Regions from separate parts of the Homo sapiens genome. Here regions 1 and 3 are each linked to region 2. Evidence: promoter capture Hi-C in 16 types of primary human blood cells and fetal thymus (Javierre and others, 2016). All regions are on one chromosome and are shown on one strand. The core of a region is centred on a gene start or on the middle of the fragment in contact, and the rest is flanking DNA. Distances in the headings are between cores, read along the strand shown. Region 1 has its middle 69 kb from the start of IL1R2. Region 2 holds the start of IL1RL2 (interleukin 1 receptor like 2). Region 3 has its middle 62 kb from the start of IL1R1.

Region 1 (2,746 bases), core at 204-2,703, 130 kb before region 2:
GAGCCTCAGTGTCTTCAACTCTAATAGAGAATCACAGAGTTGCTGGAATGCCCAGGACAACGAAATTCTAAATTAATGCTTTCAATCCCAGGTGCAGTTTCCCTGTGTTTGTGCAGGGCTGGGCCGAGTTAGGAGCCTGAATCTCTCTCCACCTCCATGGCTTCTCCAGGAGGCTTCATCTTGCTGCGGAGGTGGACTGCAGATGGCCACTGCCACCACTCCTCAGAGGGCATGTTATACTGGTGGAGTTAATAACTGACACCTGGGAGATTAGGTCTGTGGCTCTCCTTTCTCTCTAGTGATGATCAGTTCTATCCATGGGGACTCAGAACGGAGGGCCAGAGAGGACTGCAGAAACAAAGTCCAGAGATGTGAAGTGACTTGTCCAAGATCCCAAAGCTTGTCCATGTCTGAATCACGATAAACAACTTCAGGGATGGTCTCTCTATGATATTTAAAACAGTGTGTGTTGTCTTCTGCTTTTCCTTTGATTTGGAGCCTGCTGTTATAACACTGTCTTGTTGGACTGCCACGTGTCCACTGGGAATTGCTCCCAGAGCAGAATTGGACTCAGCAGGGCTGCAGCGGAGTGTGGTGAAAGGACTGCTGAACAGGGTGGGGAGCAGAGGTCTGAGGGCCAGTCTCCCTATCCACTGCTGACTTTTCTTGGGTATTTGAGGTTTTCCTAGGTTTAAATTAGTTGAATAAAATAGATAGTTTTCAGGCCTTTTGATTGTTCAATGCTCTGGAATTGGAGCCCTTTGGACAGAAGAAATTTACATGTCACCTTAAAACATACATAAAAAAGTGCAAAGCTGCTCCAGTTGAAGTTAGAAGAGGAAAGCAAGAACCTCTTTCCCTGGGCACCCCTGAAGCACATTGCGGAACCCTGGGCCTCCTCAGAGCACAGTCTGGAAACCTCCAGACTGGAGGCCTCTAAGATCTTCTGGTGGGATGATAAGTGTGAGATGCATCCAGAGGTACTACCAAAGATCTTCACTTCTCCAGGGTCCTCCCAGGAATATACATTTGTCTCAGAAGCCAGCAAACTCCCTTGTCTTCCCTTCACTTCCTGCCCATGTGCCAAGGTGGTAGGTTTCAGAGTTAATGGAAAGCTGGGACTTGACCCTGTTCCTCAAGGAGCTTATTCTTAAACTTTCAAGGCAGATGCCCCACGAATGTTTGAAAAATAGATGAAAACACCTCTTTTGAGGGATACAGAAGCCAAAAACTGTGCCTAGCACCCAGTCCTCAGTAAGAAGTACATTTGGCATGGTGCCCAGAGCATATATGCTTATCCATATGAATGCCATAAAAAACCTGGAGAGAATCCATTCTCTTTGTTTCATTAAAAAGATGCTGGTGGTGAGCCACTGACGTGCTTTTGTGATCCCTTAATGGGTTGTGCTCTGGAGAACGCTGGCACGGGTGTGCTCACTGGTTACTCCCTGCAACCACACTGGGGTCACATTTAGGTCTCTTTTGCTACATCTAAGGTCAGCAAACTATGACCCACTGACAAACTGTGGGTGGTCACCTACTTCTGTATGGCTCAGGGACACTCTGCAAGCGCTGTGAGCTGCAGGACCCAAGCTGAGGTGGTTCCATCTGTCCCTGTCCCCTACTTGGCTTCCAGCACCTGCCTCCCCTGCCAGAGGACTCACCTTCCTGCCACACAGGGCCCATGCTGGTCACTCCTACAGCATGGGGGCTCTGCTGTTGCAATGCGGGGCGCCAGGCTGCAGAATCTAAGTCTGGGAATTGGTGACGTGTTAGCTTCACTTCCGTTCAGCTGTCCAGAGGGAGGGGGCCGGGATCTCCAGGAGGAGCTGGTTTGGTTGTCCCTGGGGCAAAGAGAGAAAATGACCGTGGTGGCCAAGTCCCCTTCAACTCCCTAAGCCCACTGAGCTGGCTTGCCAGGCCCCTCCCTCCATCAGGCTGCCCTTCTTCCCAGGACCGTCTCCAGTGGGTTCAGGGCACACTGTGCCTGCCCACAGGAAGCCCACCCCAGGCAGATAGGGCCAGGCATGCAGAGGTTTCTCTCTTGTTATAGAAGTATCTACATTATATAAATACACACACATATATCATATATATTTTATGTATATATAACATATGAAATATGCTTCTTGGCCTACAGTGTCTAAAATATTTACTATTTTAGAAATGTTTGCCTCTCCCAGTGCTACCTGATTATGGCTGTGCGTTACATGACCCTATAAAGATTTAACTGCTTTTAATAACAATAAACAATAATATTAGCTACCATTTATTGAGGCTCAGAAAGGTTGAGTAACTTGCCTAAAGTCACACAGCTAGTAAATGGCAGAGCGGGATCTTGCAGTGATGGTTTCGAGGGAGAGGAGAATCACTGACAGACTTGGTTCCTGCCATGCAGATGCAGGCGTCCCCTGGGACTTCAGCTTCTCCAGGGCCACCCTCACTCCAGAACTGCTGGTCAGCTCTGTGACCCATCTCTCCTCATGAGCTTGCTCTGGGGTGGCTGCCAAAGCTTCTTTTTAATTATTATGGTCATGCGTGAGAACACTGGGGCCAGAAGCTTCTATTTTTCCAGCGTTTTCTTTCCTGTGGGGCCTCCCAGCTTCAGCCATTCCTTTGTAACTTGGCTGACACCCCTCCAGTTTCCACTTCACTTCATGGGTTCAGAGAAGAGACCATGGTTGCTAAGCCCTGCTGAGTGTCATTTCTGGTGTGTCAGAGTTGACAATTCTCCTGCTTCTTGACT
Region 2 (3,066 bases), core at 217-2,716:
TTAACTTCATACATTTTGGGGCAACAATACCCATTAAACTTGGCATATATACTAGTCCTCAGGCTAAGAAATAAGATAGGACACAAATGCATCTATTCATAAAGTGAAAATGAAAAAAGATAGCATAAAGATTTAGAAATACCTTTCAACACTGCTCATAGAAATAATTCTGAATGCAAATCATATGACTTTTATAAAAATAGTAACACTTTTGTTTTGTTTTGGATGAGGACATAAACGCTGAAGAATATACATATACAGAGGAACCTCGTTTACTGCTGATAGTAGGGGAAATAAATAATAATCTCTATTTATAGCTTAAGAAAGAGGTCCTCAAAGAGTGGGAGCCCTATGGGTCCCTGAGAGACCCTTCAAAAAGATCTGTGAAATCAAAACTATGTTCATCGTAATATTAAGACCTTATATTCCTTTTTTATTCTCATTCTCTCATTAGTGTATGGTGGACCTTTTCAGAAGCTATATGACATATTATATCATGACACTGATTGCAGAAGCAAGTATGAGAATCCAGTCATCTTCTAGTAAGCCAGACATCAAAGAGATCTGCATCTATGTAGAACAATGCCGCTTTTCTCAATAAGCCTGTTTTAGAAAGTAGAGTTATTTTTCATAAATTGTATGATATTTGCGTTAACATGTAATGGGTTTATTGTCACTTAAATAAGAAAGTAAACGTTTAAAAATTCTCCCTTTAACTTCTAATGTAGTAATATTGACAGGCATAACCTACATAGACAAAAGCACTTTGGAATCCTCAATACTTTTTAAGAGTGTAGAAATCTACAAACCACTGACCTTCAGCCTATCACAGGAAGCTTTGCTATTAGCACAATTATTGCATCTCTGCTCCTATGGTTGCTTTTGTCTCACTGTCTCTGATCTTTCAAAGACCGTTGGGAAGAGCTTGACCAGTAATCTATTGAATGGAGATTACATTTTGAACCTTTTCCTACAACTCAGTGCCCTGTGGGATGACTCTGGGGTGTCTCCTGATGGCTAGGGCAACAGGTCCCTGTTGACATCACCTTATCGGGAAGTTTTAGACAGGAACAGTCTTCAGGCTCTGAAGTACTTGAACACCATGGGATTCCTGCCTTACAGAAGTTAATGAGCACGACTCAGGCAGATTCATAATTCTCCTTAGAAGCCATTTGGGATGGCTTCCACTTTGGGGTCATTCCACATAGGCCAATGCAGAGCATGCAGTAACTGCTCAAATAGGATTTGGAAAGGAATGAATAATTCATTTAGACGTTCAACTTGGAATAGACTTAAGCAGACACTCCTGGTGATGAAGGACTTAGATGCCAGAAAATCAGGCTCAAAGACTTTCAAGCCACTTCCTAGTGTGATGTCACATTCCTTCCTACGCTCCACTGGGGAAGGCAGGTCTGCCCCGCCCACGGTGGCGGGGAAATACCTAGGCATGGAAGTGGCATGACAGGGCTCGTGTCCCTGTCATATTTTCCACTCTCCACGAGGTCCTGCGCGCTTCAATCCTGCAGGCAGGTAGACACCGGGCCGGGAGTCTGGCTGAGCCAGGCATGGGTGGGGCCCTGACAGTAGGAGAGGTGTGCAGGAAAAGACGTGGCAACAATGTGTGCCACCGCAGGCCAGGGATCAGGCCCCCCAGGCCGGCCCCCGACCGGCTAGGTGACCATGGGGGAGCCGACTCCGTCTCTGGGTCGAGGAGTGGAGCTCGCGGCTATTTTCAGCTCCAGCGGCTCCCTGCCTTCCTTTCTCCTTTCCCGCTGGCCCTTGCCAGGTAGGCCTGCCCTGGCTGCTCCCCAGTGAGCGGGTGTTTGGGGTTTCTGTTTAGACCGCCAGGCTCGGGTGGATCCCGAGGACACAGGCGCGCAGGGGAGGCTCCGTGCGCCGCGAGCGGGGTTGGGGTCCCACGTCTGGAACCCAGGCCGCAGGCTGCGCTGGGGGGCGCCCTGGCCCTCACGGGGGCTCTGGACACCAGCCTGCTTCGCTGTCAGGTGGCAGAAGCAGCTCCCACGCGGTCCCCACCGCCGCCGCCGCCTACTCCTCGCCCATCCTCCTCTGCGGCGGGGCGAGCTCCCTGCCCTGGATCCTGGTCGGGCGCCCAGACGAAGGAGACAGGGGAAGGGCAGTCTTTGGGGAAACGTGGGGCCAAAGTCGGAGGGCTCCCCAGGAAAAAGGGAAGGTCAGCGGCCTGGGCGGTTGTCTTTGAGATTCCGAGGTCGCCCACGCCGGCGCCTCGGGCCCGCCCTACTGCGTCCTCCCCTCCCACCCTCTTCTCCCTTCCTTGCAGCCCGGTTTGGGGATGTGGTCCTTGCTGCTCTGCGGGTTGTCCATCGCCCTTCCACTGTCTGTCACAGCAGGTACGTTCCGTGTGTCCTCCGTTCCCAGAGGCTGCCCGAGTCCACAGGCTCCTGGCCTGTCATTGGGAGCCCCCGGGGATCGCGTCAGCCCGAGCGCGGCTCCTTCCCCTCCCCAGACCGCCAGGCGGAGTTCCGCGGAAGAGGAAACAGAGAACCAGCTCCACGTGCTCGGATGCTCAGCCCTGAATGTCGCCTTTGAGCTTGGAGGTGACTTCGGGGAGGGGAAGGAGTTAGGCAAATTCCAAGTGAAGACTTGAGTAACAATGCTCAAATGGAATTACTACAGGCTATTTTATAAGATAAAGCGTTATTTTATGACACAAGGTGAAAGCAAGGAAACCGTCAATAGAACAAATTTCTTCTAAGAAATTTGGTATGGCCGGGCGCAGTGGCTCATGCCTGTAATCCCAGTACTTTGGGAGGCCAAGGCGGGCGGATCACGAGGTCAGGAGATCTAGACCATCCTGGCTAACACGGTGAAACCCCGTCTCTACTAAAAATACATTAAAAAAATTAGCCGGGCGCGGTGGCGGGCGCCTGTAGTCCCAGCTACTCAAGAGGCTGAGGCAGGAGAATGGCGTGAACTCGGGAGGCGGAGCTTGCAGTGAGCCGAGATTGAGCCTCTGCACTCCAGCCTGGGCGACAGAGAGAGACTCCGTCTCAAAAAAAAAAAAAAAAGGAAATTTGGTAGAAATGA
Region 3 (2,801 bases), core at 300-2,799, 110 kb before region 2:
CAATAGATGCAGACAAAATGTCTGATAAAATCTGACACCCTTTCAAGATTAAAAACAACAACAACAACAACAACAAACCAACAAAAATCAGCAGAGTAGTAATAGAAGAGGACTTTCTTAACCTGATAATGGGCATCCAAAAAACCCCACAGCTAACATTATACTTAATGATCAAAGACCAGTAGCTTTCCCTCTGTGATCAGGAAGAAGAGAAGGATGTTTAATCCTACCACTTCTATTCAACATTGTACTAAGAATGCTAGCTAGGGAAATTTGGCAAGAAGAAATAAAATTCATATTGGAAAAAACCAGCTCTATTCTCAAATGACCTGGTCTTGTATATAGAACATTCTAAGGAATCCACTAAAAACTATTAGACTACTAAACAAGCTCAGTAAGTTTGCAAGATACAAAATCAATATATGAAAATTAATTGTATTTTTATATATTAGCAATGAAAAATTTGAAAATGAAATTAAGAAAACAATTCTACTTACAATAGCTTCAAAAAGAATAAAATAGCATAAACTTAAGAAAAGAAGTATAAGACTTGTACACTAAAAGTATAAAATATTATTGAAAGTAATTTTAAAATCGCTCAATTAATTGAAAGACATCCCATGTTCATGAATCAGAAGACTTAACTTTTTTAAAGATGGCAGTACTCCCCAAATGTATCCCAGATTTATCACAATCCTTATGAATATCCAAATTGCCTTTATTGCAGAAATTGAGAAACTGCTCATAAAATACACAAGGAAATGCAAAGGATGGAGAATATCCAAAACAATCTTGAAAAATAACAAAGTCAATGACTTACACTCCCATTTTAAAACTTACTACAAAGCAACGGTATCCAAGACAGTAGGATGTTCTCAGAGTATAAATATAAAAATCAATAAAAATAGAATTAAGAATTCAGAAATATGCCCTTACGTTTATGGTCAATTGGTTCCAAGAAAGATGCCAGCAATTCAGTGGGGGAAAGAATAATCTTCTTAATAAAAGGTGATGGGACATCTGGATATCCACATGTGAAGAAAAAATTTGCATCTCTATCTCATACTGTACACAAAAATTTACTCAAAAAGCAATCATAGAACTAAACGTATGATCTAGAACTGCAAAACTCTTAGAAGGAAATATAAATATAAATCTTTGTGACCTTGAATTGGGCAATGCTTCCTTAAGTATACAGCGCCAGAGCACAAGCAACAACAAAATAGATAATTGCACTTCACCAAAATTAAATCCTTTCATGTTTTAAAGTACTCTCTTAAGAAAGTGAAAATATAGCTCATGGAGTGGGATAAAATATTGGCAAATTATCTGATAATGAACTTGTATCCATAATATGCACAAATCTCTGATAAATTAACAATAAAAAGACAACCCAATTAAAAAGTGAGCAAAAGATTTGAATGGACATTTCGCTGAAGAAGATAGATAAAGGGTTGCTAAGCACATTAAAAGATGCTCGACATTACTGGTCATTAGCAAACGCAAAGCAAAACATACTAAGATGCCATCCACTAGAATGACGGGATGAAAGAGGCCAGAAATAATAAATGTTAGTGAGGACATAGAGAAACTGGTACACTCATTTATTACTGGAAGGAATGTAAGATGGTACAGCTACTTTTAAAATAGTTTGTGGTTCTTTGAAATGTTCAACATAGAGTTGCCATATGACTCAGCAATTCCACTCCTAGGTATCTATGTGACATAATTAACAACACAAAAATCTGTACACCAATTTTCATAGCAACATTATTCAAAATAGCCAAAACATAGAAACAACCCAAATGTCCATTAATGGATGAATGGATTAACAATATGCAGTATATCCAAACAACGGAATATTATTCAGCCATGGAAAGGAGTGAAGTACTACCTATACACAGTACAACATAGAGGAACCTTGAAAGCATTATGCTAAGTGAGAGGAGCTAGTTACAGAAGCCCACACATTGTATAATTCCATTTATATGGAATGCTTAGAATAAGCAAATTTATAGAATCAGAAAGTAGTATATAGATTGCCAGGGGCTAGAAGAAAGGGGAACGAAGAGTGATTGCTAATGAGTATGAAGTTTCTTTTGGGGGTGATGAAAATGCTCTGAAATTGGATAGTGGTGATGGGTGCGCAACTCTATGAATATACTGAAACCCTTTGAATTGTACACTTTTAAAAGGGTAATTTTATGCTGTGTGAATGACATCTCAATAAAATTCTCATTAAAATAAGAATATATGAGAGTATCTATTTCTAACTGTAGAGATTTTTGCAAATCCTGCAGAAATATGCTGAATTAGTTACAACCAGCTAAGGGAGCCTGGGATGGAAGAGTTTGAACCACACCCAATGGCCTGCATCTGGTGCTCTCCCAAGATCCATGGAAATAATCTTCCAACCTGCAATGTACCAGGGCATCTACCAGCCTGGCTCCACGGTGGTTTCAGGCATTGCTCTACAAATGATCAAGTTTTCATTCTAGAGTACGAATGAGGATTGAGTTAGACTAACTGTACAAGGGACAGGAAATAACAGCTCCTTCCCTGTCCTGGGGTCAGTGGTTTGAAAAGCACCCCATCTATCAGTGAATATCCAGCTTCCTGACAAAGAAAAGGGCTAGGGGATTTGCCCCCACCCTGTTTAGAAGGCGAAGGCGAATTAGGCCTGAATGGCGACTTGATTCTCATCTGAATATCAGAGAAACACATGTGTTGCAGGCTACACTGGAAGTCCTAATGGCTTCAGTTTGATAGTGGATTTGGGCTTAATGGTTGAGCAACTCCAG

Evidence for each region. The method cuts DNA at HindIII sites, captures the fragments that hold promoters and counts their contacts. A CHiCAGO score of 5 or more calls a contact.
Region 1: a fragment that was not itself captured here is called in contact with the fragment with the promoter of IL1RL2 in region 2 in 1 of 17 cell types (activated CD4 T cells); the score reaches 5.9 in activated CD4 T cells.
Region 3: a contact is called between a fragment that was not itself captured here and the fragment with the promoter of IL1RL2 in region 2, in 2 of 17 cell types (activated CD4 T cells and M2 macrophages). The highest score is 6.8, in activated CD4 T cells.

What each region holds. Positions count from the first base shown.
Region 1 is chr2:102,059,707-102,062,452 of GRCh38, forward strand. No RefSeq gene overlaps it. Among named protein-coding and RNA genes, the nearest start is that of IL1R2, 69 kb to the left of the region's middle. The HindIII fragment of the contact is 2,113 bases long and covers 398-2,510 here.
Region 2 is chr2:102,185,557-102,188,622 of GRCh38, forward strand. It overlaps IL1RL2 (interleukin 1 receptor like 2), which reads left to right and starts at 1,467. Exons shown (of 12, transcript NM_003854.4): 1 at 1,467-1,530; 2 at 2,300-2,369. The coding sequence starts at 2,312. RefSeq lists an enhancer at 1,123-1,652. The HindIII fragment of the contact is 3,870 bases long and covers 835-3,066 here.
Region 3 is chr2:102,079,001-102,081,801 of GRCh38, forward strand. It overlaps a transcript of IL1R1 not described here. Among named protein-coding and RNA genes, the nearest start is that of IL1R1, 62 kb to the right of the region's middle. The HindIII fragment of the contact is 5,005 bases long and covers 1-2,801 here.